2 separate regions of the Homo sapiens genome follow, and region 2 is linked to region 1. Evidence: promoter capture Hi-C in human tissues and cell types (Jung and others, 2019). All regions are on one chromosome and are shown on one strand. Each heading gives the region's core, a stretch centred on a gene start or on the middle of the fragment in contact. The rest is flanking DNA. Distances are from core to core; before and after follow the strand shown.

Evidence for each region. The method cuts DNA at HindIII sites, captures the fragments that hold promoters and counts their contacts. A contact is called where the count stands out against the background at its distance.
Region 2: a fragment that was not itself captured here is called in contact with the fragment with the promoter of RBM17 in region 1 in 3 of the 25 tissues and cell types used here (IMR-90 fibroblasts, liver and mesendoderm cells).

Annotation. Positions count from the first base shown.
Region 1 is chr10:6,086,553-6,093,372 of GRCh38, forward strand. RBM17 (RNA binding motif protein 17) reads left to right here and starts at 2,482. Exons shown (of 12, transcript NM_032905.5): 1 at 2,482-2,641. RefSeq lists enhancers at 2,134-2,183, 3,140-3,978 and silencers at 2,344-2,783, 2,794-2,883, 3,154-3,213. The HindIII fragment of the contact is 7,744 bases long and covers 819-6,820 here.
Region 2 is chr10:5,916,975-5,923,794 of GRCh38, forward strand. FBH1 (F-box DNA helicase 1) reads left to right here. Exons shown (of 21, transcript NM_178150.3): 11 at 446-533; 12 at 616-702; 13 at 1,368-1,504; 14 at 4,284-4,383; 15 at 4,474-4,595; 16 at 6,647-6,722. Among named protein-coding and RNA genes, the nearest start is that of FBH1, 30 kb to the left of the region's middle. RefSeq lists an enhancer at 1-1,116 and a silencer at 1,898-2,098. The HindIII fragment of the contact is 6,688 bases long and covers 177-6,820 here.

The DNA of each region.
Region 1 (6,820 bases), core at 1,232-3,731:
CACTACCGATGTTTGCTCTGCAGCCCCGAGGGGGCGCTCCAGCGCGTCTGTCTTGTCCCTCTTCTAAAGCTCCACCGTTTTGTGTGCGCTTTCTGATAGTTGCATGGCCTGGGTTCTGTTCCCCCATTGGGTTAAGCTTTGGATTCTCGGTGCATAAAATAAAGATGATATTTGTTACTATTGACAGGAAATGGAGGCAAGCATGAGACTGCTCACGTACTAGGAAATGAAGTAAGGCAGTTTTCCTCCTGGAAGTTAAACTAGAAAATTCCTAAACAATGGATGTGATTGCATCTATGGTCTGTAAACCAAAAAGTTACTTGTGTATGTATGATGGAATGATTTGGGAACAAAGGCACAAATTTTCAACCAAAAAGGGAGGAAGGAGTGGTCTCAGACTGCAGAGTGGAGACGCCAAGCAGATTAGGGAGTACAGGTAGACAGCAGGTTCAACCTGGAGGAAGTCCTGCAGCTCTGGACCTCCTAATCAGGGCTTTTGCACCCCCACCGGTGCTTTGATCACGGGGTGGGGAGAGACCCAGTCTAGACACCTTCTATCTTTGCCCTTCTTCCTTTTTCTGTTTACACGCTATTACTTTCTGCTTCTTTTATTGACCAAGTACGTCCTTCTGCTTCTCACATTTTTATTTTATTTCCAGTTTCTTGCACAAGTGCTTAATTCATTTAGCTTTTTCCAAGTTTTTAATTGATACAAAAACTTAAAACCATGAATTTTCCTCTTAGTACTCTCTGAGCTAAATCCCATGAGTATGTCATTTTCATACTTTTCTAGATATTATGTTATTTTGATTTTGTTTTCCTTTTTAGTCCAAGTGTTATTTAAGCATTTAAAAATTTTCAAGGGGTAGGCATGTTTTATTTTCTGTTTTTTCATTAATTTCTACTTTTATTGAATTGCTGCAGATAATATTACCGATATGATTCTACTTATTGGACTATGTTAAGATTTTTCTCTGTGGTTTAAAATATGACTAATTGTTGTGAATATTCCTTAGACACTGGAAAAGATGTAATGTCTATTTAGGGGACAGTGTTTGATATATTAGATCTATCATAGGAATTGTATTTTTAGGTCTTCTCAATCCCCATTTACTTTTTGTACTCTTCGTCTGGCAAGGAGTGTGCCAATTATTTCTGTCTATTCACTCACTCCTACAGTGTTTGCTATGAATAATGAGATTATGTGATTTGGTGCAAAGATTTTCCTATTTTTCCTATTTTTTTCTTGATTGTGAATTGTGCTCCTCAAGATTATAAAATGTCCTTCTTAATCTTACTTAATGCTTTTTGCCCTGAAATCAACTTTGTAGTAAGCGGTTTGTGATTCCTGATTTTTTTAATTTTTTTGCATATTCCTGGTATATCTTTTCCAATCTTGTATTTTCAAACTCAGAATAACGTTAGCACTTTCTTGTATACAACACTGAGTTGCATGATGGTTTGTGCTCCTATCTGAGATTGTAGTTTTTTAGTAGGTAAGCTTAGGTCTATATTTCTTCTTGTGAGACATTTGGTCTTGTTCTGTCATATAGTTTGGTTACGCTTTCTGTTTTGTAACTTTTTAAAATATTTCCCTATATATATATTTTTTTTGCTGTGGTTTTGTGTGTGTGTGTGTGTGTGTGCATGCATGTATGTGTGGGTGCATGTATGTGTGGATTATTTGAAAGCTTTGTAGTTTTGTTCTGGGTTACCCTCAGAATCATACCATCCCATGACGTCCTTAATCCTCTATTTCTTTAGATTGTCTTTTGTCTCTCCACTGTATTTCTTTTTTCCCCCTTTTCCCGTTTTCTTAATGACTGGATTTTAATGGATTATAGTAACTTTCTTGGTATACTCCTTCGGACTAAGACGTCTGCTTAAATCTCTACTATTTGATTTATCGGCTTGAACTCTATTTGACACCCAATTAATTACAGATGTAAAAATCATATTTACCCGAAGTCCCACTTTCCCTTTCCCTCCCTGCTTCTGTCAGCGACGTCGTTTTTAAAGACCGAGGCTTTATAGCATTGACATTCTTTTCTGTACCCCTAATCGCGGCATCTGTTTCCATAATCTTACGCTTAACCTCGTGCTCCTTGCCATCCTTTTGCAGCATCTGGCCTATGCAGACTTATTTTCAACTTTTTGCTTATATAGGAGTGGCTTTGAATGAATGAGATCGAGGGGCCTGGAGGGACTTCCCCCACCTCCCCTATCAGAAAGCCCGGCCTCGGACCACTTCTCCTCCTCACCATCTGGGGGCGCTGCCGCGCTCCCCAAGCCTTGTGGAATTTCGAAAATGTGCGCCAGGGCGACACCTCTTGATGGTAAGAAGACGCCGGCGGAGGGGAGCGTGCAGTGCGGTCCTCCCGCGGGCAGGGGGCAGTGCGGCAAGGCGCCCTCGGCGCAGGCGCAGAGGCCGAAGCAGGCGCAGGCGCAGGCGGGGCGCAGGCGCGGGCGCGCTCTCCCGGCAGCCCGCGCTCCCTGACCCCGCGCCGCCGAGCGCCCTGAGGACTCAGCGAAGGGTGGGCGCCGCCGAGGCCTCCTGCCGCTGGCGGGTTTCCGCGGAGTGCCGCCCGGCTCCGCTCTGCCGCCGGCGCGGCTCATGGGCAGAGTCGGCCGGGCGGGCCGGGTAAGTGGCGCCCCGGCGGCCCCGGGTGGGTGGCCTGGCGGGACCTGAGGCGGGCGCGCCTTCCCGGGAGGCGCTAGACGCAAGCCCGCGGCTTTAGGCCCGTCGCGAGGGGCGGAGGCCGGGCCAGCGCAGCCGGAGCCTCCGAGGGTCTCAGTCCCCGCGGCGGGCGCTGGTCTCTCCACGCGGCTGCGGCCCGGTACCCTCCGCCCGCCGCCGCCTCTGGTGACCCTGGCCCTGACCTTCTCCCTCTTCCCTTCCTCCTCCTCCTCCTCATGTCTGCCTCGGGCTGTTTGGTGCTGAAGAGCGTTTCTTCTCCGTCTCGTGCACCGCATCCTGACGAAATTGTCTGGTCACCAGAACCGAGTAGCCCGTAGCGTGTCCCCCCTGGCCCTGCACGGTTGCCCCTCTCTGGGGCTCGGAGCCGGTTCCTCCCGGGGTCTCAGAACTGGGAGTGCAGACGTTGGCGTTTCTCAGACTCCGGAGCTGCCCGGGACAGGAATGCAGCCCTAACCCCGGCGTCGCCTCGGCTCGTGCAGTTTGAGCGGTGTTTCAGCGCTCACGTCCGACCCCAGGCAGTCTTTGAGCTTCGCCTCTTGCCCCGAGAATGTGTAATGATCGGAGAATGCAGGTGGAATGAGGTTCTGCCCCTGCTTGCAGGAGTTTGGTTTCTGGGAAAGCAGGCGTGAAAACCCAGGCCCGGGTTGATTTGAGAAACGCAAGTGGGGTCTGGAAGGACCTCTCTTGAGAGAGGAGGTCATGCTTATGTTGAGTCTTGAAGGTACGTTGTTAGATGTGAGAGGTGGGAAAAAGGCTGCCGGCGGAGGAAGTAAGTGCGAAAGTAGCAGAAGCGAAGCCCCGTAGTGCGTTCTGGAAGCTGCAGGTTAGGCAGAAAGAAAGGTTTGAGGAGGGGCTGCTGTGTTTCCAGGAGTAGTCAGGTCAGAACATGGAGGTTTCTTGAGAAGCAGTAAAGAAGCGCCATTGAGGGTCCTTATTTTGCTAGAGCCAGGCATATGGATGGGAAATAGGATATTCTAGATAAGGGCAAGATTCGCATATACTCAAATAGATGGGTAGATGTGCACTGGCTCCCCGCAGCAGATGGAGTTTTTAAAAGGATGCAACACAAGTTTCCACATTTTTAGTTGTAAAGGCTGCAGACATTTTGATCGTAATGACAGCTTTTAGGGAATATGGGGTAACAGTTTAGTGAGCTAAACGAGAGGGCTTTATTTTTAGAGTTAGTTAAGCAAGGTGCTGCGTGCTGTCCAGTTTATAACAGAGCAGGTTGTGCGGTTGTGGAGCTCTGCGGAACCAAAGGCAGCCTTTCTGGAGGCTCTTGAGAGAATTGTTGTACACTTCCAAATGCAGCTTTATTTAAAGTGGATTTCTTTTTACCTGGTTTGTTTTAACTTACCTTCCCATTCTCCCCTGCCTATGAATTTTTCAGACCTCCTCCCAGCAGGGAACAGATGATCCCAGGCTAGTCATCTCTCAAACCTTTCATAATAGTCAATAGTGAAGGAAGTTCTGTTATTCGCCTAAATTACAGGTGACTGTAGTGGACTGTGTTTGCAATACTAGCCTATGGCATTTTGGTAACAGCCAGAGGGTGGGATTGAATGGAAAGATTAAACTGACAAGGGCGTCAGATGGAGGTATGGGAAAAATTTTTTTTTAATTCTTTAGAAAGTCATGGTAGATCTTATACTTGAGGTAGATGCTTTTTAAGCTGTATTTTTTGCGGACACCAAAGTGCACCACCCCTCCTGTTCCTTTCTGGGTATATTTGCCATATATATGTATATAAATATATAAATATTTATATATTTATATATATTTATATATTTTTATATATATATTTATATACATATATTTTTTTCTCCTGAGACAGAGTCTCACTCTATAGTCCAGGCTGGAGTGCAGCGGTGTAAGTCGGCTCACTGCAACCTCCACTTCCCAGGTTCAAATGGTTCTCTGGCCTCAACCTCCTGAGTAGCTGGAATTACAGGCGCTCGCAACCATGCTCGGCCAATTTTTGTATTTTCAGTAGGGACGGGGTTTCACCATGTTGGCCAGGCTGGTCTCGAACTCCTGATCTCAAGTGATCCTCCTGCCTCGGCCTCCCAAAGTGCTGGGATTACAGGCGTGAGCCACTGGGCCCGGTCTTGCCATATTCTTTAGGCTTCAAAGAGGCATGCTTTGTTTTATGATGCATGAATATCTGTTTAGTGATAGAAATATTTCTTGCTAACAAGCCTGCCTCTTTAGGTGCTCAGAACTCAGACCTTGACTCGTTATTGGTTGTGTGGTGGTGGTAGTTTTTTTCTCCTTAATTATGGTTTGCAATTTAAATTTTATCCTACTTATCATAAGTTATGTGCTTAAAAAGCAGATCTGCAGATCTCACTGTTTCATAATAATGTGATTTAAATAGGTGCACTAACATTTTTCATCCATTCACTAACACATTTAAAAAATATTAATAGAGCCACTTAACAATGTTCAAGCATGGTGCTGAGCTAGAGATACAAAGCTGAACATAAGAAACACCCCTGCCTTTAGGGGGCTTACACTGCAGGAAGAAACCGCTGTGTGAAACAATAGGCAGCATAACTTGCCAAGGTTGCTGTGATCTGAGTATGCTTGAGGAAACCAGTTGGGGGGGGTTAGTTTTATGTGGGGGCAATAGTCACTAAAGGCTTCTGAGATGCACTTGAAAGATAAGTAGGTGGGGTGCTTCTGAGAAGACTCTTCCATGTTCTTTTTCCTGCCAGTTGCACATGTTTTAAAAAAATACTTTCCAGCTTGGGTGGAATCTTGAAAACTCACCATTCTTCCTTCTGGCAGAACCATGTTTGTTATGTTTCCTAAGAAAAAATGTAGCATATATGAAACGTGGGTTGCTCAAAGGGAAGTGTTGCCACAAAAAGGAAGGAAATAGCAAATATTTTAAAGTTATAAAAACCAGCAATTTGTATTTACTTTTGATCCTGGCTTCTTATGGTATATCCAGTTGTTACAAAGTACAGCTTTTTGTTACCTGGCAGCAGACCTAATGAAATAAATGTGTTATGTTGTCTAAGTAATAATGTCAACGTTAATTAGGGTAAGTTTGGGTCTTGGCAGTCTTATTAATGTACTTATTACATTTCAGTAGTTGCGGTGGGGAGAATTAATGAACAAACTATTGTATATTAAATGCTTAATATAGCGAAAATAAAGAATACACACTTTTTAAGGAATAGATTAACTAAAACTGTAAATAAAATTAACATAAAAGGAGGAAAGCAAGGAAATAATGAGAAGAGGATTCCGGGGAAATTACATGAATGGGTTGGGGGAGTAGTATGGTTGAGTGTGGTTTCTTAGTCTAGATCCTGTCTTGTTTTGGGTGGTGAATTCACAGGTGCTTGCAGCATTATAATAATTAAACAAAAGCAGGTAATAAGTGTGTGAATGGATGAGAGTGTGATGTTACTATGATTAATCCCATTCTGTGAACTTAAAATTCAGTGAAAATGAGAAAAACGAAGAAAGCACTTTTGCATTTGCTGTGATGCAGAGATTTGATTTTATAAGCTCAATGTTACAGAAAACTAGCAGGTGCTGGTAAGATGACATCAGTTTCTAATATTTAAAGCGTTTTGCAGGTTTGAGAAGAGAAATGAGGACCTTTAAATGAGCATGAGATTTGCTGCCTGATGATTTCTGAAACTTTTGCGCAATGCAGCAAATCAACTGGAATTGTCAGTCAGCCATCTTAAATGACATGGAATCAGAGGAGATGTGTGGTCTCATAAAATCTCATTAATTCACTATTTAATTTTTGCTAAATATTGAATCTATTGATGGAAGAACTGTTGGCAGCTGAGATCTAGTACACTGCTAGATTTTTAGCCTCAAAGTTTAGAGAACTCTTTTCATCAGAGTTGACTCTTCTGGGGAGGGTGAGGAGTGTTGCCTCCCTCTCTGGGGGTTACTTCCTTCCCTTATTCCCCAGTGCTGCCTCTTTGCCTATTTATTTTTTATTTTATTTTTTTGAGACAGTCTCGCTCTATCATCCAGGCTGGAGTGCAGTGGTGCAATCTTGGCTCACTGCGACCTCCGCCTCCCGGGTTCAAGCAATTCTCCTATCTCACCCTCTTGTCTCAGCTGGGACAGGACTACAGGCGTGCAGCA
Region 2 (6,820 bases), core at 2,271-4,770, 170 kb before region 1:
CTGGACCTCAAAACTGATCTTAACTGAAGGCTGGAATCTCTCCTGATTTTCTTGGGTTATTGGTTCTATGGAATAGATTTTGCTAGTGGGAAAGTCTGTTTCTTTTTTTCATCAAGTCTTTTCAATCATGTGCCATTGTTTTTGTGAATTAAGCATCAGTCATAAATCTAGAAGAACAATTTGGCCTTTTCTGGTTCACCTAACTGTTATGATCTCTGTCCTGTCACGGGCATGGCACGGCCCGGCTGCTTCCTGTCTCAGCACTGGAGACCCTCTGGCGTGGAGAGGCTGTTGAGGAGACCCAGGAGGTTAGGGTGGTGTCTGCGGTCCCCCTTCTGTGAGGATGCCCTGGCTCCACTGCTGTATGGGAGTTGACAGTGTGACCGCAGGGTGCTGCCTTTGCCAGGGTCTCAAACTCTGGGTTACCATATGCTTTACTTCCTAGAATGGTGTCCTTGAAGCGAGCCGCCTCTGGGATAACATGCGGAAGCTGGGGGAGTGCACAGAAGAGGCGCACCAGATGACTCATGACGGTAGGCGGCTGCCGAATGGCGGGGACTGGCCAATGGGACTGCCTTCCTGGCGTTACAACTCCTGCGTCTCTCCTTATTTTAGGCTACTTGAAACTCTGGCAGCTGAGCAAGCCTTCGCTGGCCTCTTTTGACGCCATCTTTGTGGATGAGGCCCAGGACTGCACACCAGGTGATACACTGTTCAGGACATCAGTAGTGTCAAATACGTAGAAACAGCGCCATGATTATGTAAGAGGACACCTGTGTGAACTAAGTTGATTATTATTATTTGTGATAAAGAAGAGGATCTTCATACTTACCTTAGGATTTCAAGCTGCCCCTTCCCCTCACCCAAGCAGATTTCTCTGTCACCATAGGTTTTGCTTAGGTTGTTCTTAACATGTTGACCAAGTTGTAGACCAGCAGACGACAGGGACCTAGACTCATGCTCTGTGGGAAGAGATCGTCCATTGACAGGGAAAAGCTTGTGTTGTCTACTTCTCAAGTGGCTAGGAGAGAACAGACAGTGTTATCCGTCTGACTTTGTAGGTCAATTTTGAGTGCTATAATATTAGAGAAGACACTGCCTCATTTTAGATTTGCCTGTGTTGTTTTCTTATATTCCAACAATTCATCCAAGGCGAAACATAATCTGCATTCCTAGCACCAGAAACTGTTTCTTTTGTCCATTATAAAATGGCTGCTTTTGATGGAGTGTGCCTGTCCTACAGGAAAAGGCGACCGTGAGGTCCAGTGTGCCCTGGCTTAGCTTCGTGGAAGTGTTTTTGTCCTTTTCTTTTTGCTGCCTGGGGTGGAGGCCTCAAGGTTTCTCACTTTTCCTCTCGTTGGTTACAGCTATCATGAACATAGTTCTGTCTCAGCCATGTGGGAAAATCTTTGTAGGGGACCCGCACCAGCAGATCTATACCTTCCGGGGTGCGGTCAACGCCCTGTTCACAGTGCCCCACACCCACGTCTTCTATCTCACGCAGGTAAGTGCGCACTCTGCATGGGAGGCATTGCATCTCTCTCCCAATGTCTTACGTGCCAGGCCCTGTGAAAGGTGGTATGCCAGGCTCACCAGATCTAGCAAATCCTTGCTTCTAAGCCATGGTTCTCAAAGTGTGGTTCTCAGGGGTCTGCCAAGTCACACTGTTTTCATAAGAGGTGTGTGCACAGCGGTCGTCTGAGGAAGAGCTGCTGCGGCTGAACTGTGAACCGATGGCTGCTGCCGCCTTGTACATTTGTGCTTAGAACAGTTGTTAGACCAGCGCTGGTTGTTCAGACTTGTGTATTTGGCACTTTTTCAAAGACAAGTGAAACAAGCTGCGACTTCAGGGAAAATAACTGACAGTGTTTGTTGTCAAAAGTAACATCTTTGCTTTCAAGTGAAATTAAAATGTTGGCAAACTCTCCCATAATGAATGTGACAACTCACAGTGTCCTTGATTATGCGAAAAGTTTATTATGCGCTCCTTCCTTTCCAATCACATGTCTGTGTGAGGTTGAATTTTCTTCATGTGTGTCAGCCAAGACAGTATATCTCAGCAGGCAATGCAGATGTGAACACAGGAAGCCAGCAGTCTTCTGTTATGCCAGGCATTGAAGAGATTTGCAAAAATGGAACATGGTGCCACTCTTCTTGCTGCATTTTTTTTTGTTCTCGGAAATATGTTTCAAAAAATATGTTCTTTATGTCATCATATAAGAGGCTTTTGGCTGGGCATGGTGGCTCATGCCTGTAATCCCAGCATTTTGGGAGGCCAAGAAGGACAGATCACTTGAGGTCAGGAGTTCAAGACCAGCCTGGCCAACATGGTAAAACCCTGTCTCTATTAAAAATACAAAAATTAGCCAGGTGTGGTGGCTCCCGCCTGTAGTGTCAGCTACTCAGGAGGCTGAGGCAGGAGAATCACTTGAACCCAGGAGGCAGAGGTTGCAGTGAGCCGAGGTCGCACCATTGTACTCCAGCCTGGGTGACAGAATGAGACTCTGTCTTAAAAAAAAATAGTTTTTAATAGTTATTTTTAAATGAATTAAAATTTATAATATGGTAAATATAGATAGATAGAGCTCATGTAAATAAAAGCTCTTTGGAGGCTTTTTAAGTGTGATTTTTAAGTGTGAAGCATCCTGAGACCAGCAGTTCGAGAACCACTGCTTTTAAGAAACTTATTTCTGATTAGAAGAGATGTCTCACTTGGATGAAAGTATCAACTGTGCTGTGTTTTGTGATGTTATTGAAAGTTCCGTAGACGCCTCTGTGACTCTTCCCTTGAGCTCCTACTGCTGTGGTGATTTAGGGTAGCGTCACTGCAGAGGTGATTTGTTCTTTTAATAGATGGTATTTTTTTAGAACAGTTTCAGATTTACAGAAAAATCGAGAGGAGAGTTCCCATATATCCTGTACTCAGTTTCCCATTACTAACATCTTATCGTCTTATATTAATGTGGAACACTTGTCACGATAATGAACCAACATTGATACATTATTATGGACTGAAGTCCATGGTTCATTTGCATTTCCTTAGTTTTGAAATAATGTCTTTTGTGACTTCAGGAGCCCATCCAGGATCCCACATTACATGTAACCATGTGTCATGAGGCTCTTCTTGGCTGTGACAGTTGCTCAGACTTTCCCTATTTCTGATGTGACCTTCACATTTTCCAGAAGTTCCAGTCAGGCATTTGTAGGCTGCCCCTGTGCTGGGATTTGTCTAATGTCTTTTCTCATGGTTAGGCTAGAGTCCTGGGTTCTGGGAGGAAGACCACAGAGGTGAAGCGCCATTTTCATCACATGGTGTTGAGGTGCATACTGTCACCATGGCTCATGACTTGATGTTGACCTTGACCACCTGGCTGATGTAGTGTTTGTCAGGTTTCTTCACTGTAGAGTTCCACTTTTTTTCATCCTTTCCTTACTGGATGCTTTGGAAGGAAGTCCCTATATGCAGTCCACACTCAAGGAGTAAGTGTTGGAGAATCTTCCCAAATTATTTGGAATTCTTCTGTAAAGGAGATTTGTTTTTTCTCTCCCATCTATTTAAATATTCAATCATTTATCTATCTTAATATGAACTCATGGATATTTATGTTATAATTTCGGTTATGGTTCACTCAGAGTAGTTTTATAGCAACAAAGTAGTGTTTGTTTAAAGTCTAGTTTTCGTTTGACTGTTACTGCTATTCACCAAAGCACATGAAGTTGTGTGTGCATGGAAAAAGGCTGTACACACCCCGAGTGTAGGGAAGAATGATATCTTGCCAGCTGGAGGGGCGAAGGAAGCAGGGTCTTGGGCTGAGTTTTGAAGGTTAGGAAGTGACTTTGGTGGATGAAAGTCAGACAGAAAACCGCGTGGGCTGAGGCAGGGCAGCACGGACAATGTGCAGGTGCTAGTGCTTCTGCCATGGCTGGTTGGTGCAGGGCAGTAGTTTTAAAGGTAGTGTGGAGAGGGATCTCAAAGGCAAGGGGAGAAGCCCTCCTTACCCGATCTTCATCTTTTGTATGATTTAGACTTCACTAGATTTGATTTGGAGAAAAGGGTAGATTTGCTTAAAAGAAAAATTTACTATTGGTGTTGAGAATAATGGAAAATAAAGACTGCTGAGTTGTGAAGGACCTTGAAAGTGAGCCTGTGAAGTTCGCTTTCCATGCGGGGGGTCAGGAACAACTTGTAGGGTCTGGCCCGGCCAGGCTGTGGCAGCAGTGATGGAAATGCACGGACACACCACAGGGCGGGCTGCTGACTCCCTCTGTCTTGTTGTTTTCAGAGTTTTCGGTTTGGTGTGGAAATAGCTTATGTGGGAGCTACTATCTTGGATGTTTGCAAGAGAGTCAGGAAAAAGACTTTGGTTGGAGGAAACCATCAGAGTAAGGCTTTTAGTTACTCTTCTCTTTTGTGTTACAAAAGTTTTCCTCTTTATTTCAATTTGCCATAGAGTTTGTGCTCTCTCCCTAAAGGTGGCATTAGAGGTGACGCAAAGGGGCAAGTGGCCTTGTTGTCCCGGACCAACGCCAACGTGTTTGATGAGGCCGTACGGGTGACGGAAGGGGAATTCCCTTCAAGGATACATTTGATTGGGGTAAGAGTACATTTCTGTTGACCACTTCATGCACAGAAACGTTGTAGACGAACATACCCAATGGAAATGTTCACCTTCCTTGGGATTATCATGCAAGAAAGCATTTGGGTTTTTGACTCTTTCCACCAGGCTGCACCATGAGTGGTCTCTATCCCAGGCCATTCTGATTATGCCAGCGAAACATTCCTGGAAAGGCAGACACAAGAAGGGCTGGGGACCTTAGTTTCCACTCTTTTAACAATGAATGCCCTTCTTCCCTTGGCAATGCCAGTGAGGCCGCGGGTTACTGGAAGCTTTTCTAGTCATGTGTTGTCATTAGTGTGAGAACAGCTGAGCTGACAACACGCAGAGTACACACCTAGGCTCTAGTTCTGACTGGTCACTAACCGTGTGTGGCTTGGGGCAAGTCACAACTTCTGTATGCCTCATTCTCTCCATCTCAGATAAAATAATGCCTTGCCTTACCTGTTTCACAGGGAGTTAGAAGGATTCAGTGGCATGTTTACAGCATTTTTAACCCTGAAGCACAGTTATATGATAAAAAGATATTCACTCATTCATTTATGGAAAGATTTTCAAGAGCCTACTATGCATTAGGCACTCAGTGAATATAGTAGTGAATCATAATCAAAAGGTGTTTTAAGTTTTTTGTTTATAAAGACTATATAACAATGGTATAGAAATTTTGGAACCTAAAAAAAGAACACATAATCCCAGTATTTCATATAATAATTCTCATTTTTGCTATTTTTGTCTTTGTCCTTATAGATGTGTATTTTTGCATAATTGCAATTGTAGGGTACACAGAAATGGATGCTGTTTTTCACTCAACACATAGGCATATTTTCTTTCATTAGTACTTTGATGACCTTATAATATTTGGTCTGGTAGATATAACATAATTTAGCCATGGTCATTGTTGTAAGAGTAGTATTTTTGGAATATCATACACACTGGCATGATATAAAGTAAGTGGTTCTCTACACCTCTCTTAAATCCACTTACTAGCTGTACCATGTGTCATTACACGTGATCACACACCTGGTTGTGGGTTATAATGTCAACTGTGTTATTTTGCCCGCTGTTTTATGTGAGTGTTTTATGTGTCCCTCCCTAAAAGATGACAAGCTCTTGGAGTGTGGGGCCCTGGTTGTGTCTGTCTTCTATGTGGGGCCTGGTGCTGTGTGAGTGCCGGAGCCCAGCCAGTGCTCAGCAGATGCTTTTGGAAGATCTGAGCTAAACAGGGCACAGTCAGGCTGTCTCCTCCAGGAGCTGACCTGTTAAAATGTAGAATAATCTGGACCTAGAGACGTTCTGTAATTTCTTTTTTTTGAGACAGAGTCTTGCTTTGTCACCCAGGCTGGAGTGCAATGGTGTGATCTCGGTTTGCTGTAACCTCTGCCTCCCAGTTTGAGAGATTCTCGTGCCTCGGCCTCCTGACTAGCTGGGACCATAGGCGCCTGCCACCACACCCGGCTAATTTTTGTATTTTTGGTAGAGACGGGGTTTCACCATGTTGGCCAGGCTGGTCTTGAACTCCTGGCCTCAAGTGATCCACCTGCCTCAGCCTCCCAAAGTGCTGGGATTACAGGCATGAGCCACTGCGCCTGGCCTGTAGTTCTTTTCTCACAAGAAACAGTGGTAAATGTGCATACCCAGCACTTTGTATTCAGGTGCCATTTGTGTTCTTTGGAATCGTCTTATGTTCTTGGAAGATGCTTAAATTGCCTTTTTATTGATGGGAAAGCAGTATGCAGCTGTAGGTCTTGCCCTTTTTAAAAGCGTAGGAAGAGTTTGAGGTAGCAGCTGTAACTTAGAATGTGGTCCCTGTGAGTGTTCAGGCCACGTGGCAGCCTTGCGCTTTCTGCTTCATGAAGTTTCCTGCTTGCCGCCTGTGCTTTGGGTGTCACTCAAGATCCATTTCCAAGAAACCATCTCATTTCAAAACCCCATCCCTGCATTTGCTTTATTTTGTTTTGTTAAAGCAACAACAAACAAAACAAAACAAAAAACAACAAAAAAACAAAAATCCCACCAAAAAACTTTTTCAGGGGATTAAATCATTTGGATTGGACAGAATCATTGATATTTGGATCCTTCTTCAGCCAGAGGAAGAACGGAGGAAACGTGAGTACCCACCTGGCCTTGGTGCATTGGAAGGACGCACCCAAGTGACAGGGACGAGAAAGAAGCAGGCCCAGTCTGAGTCAGGGACCCGTTTCCCT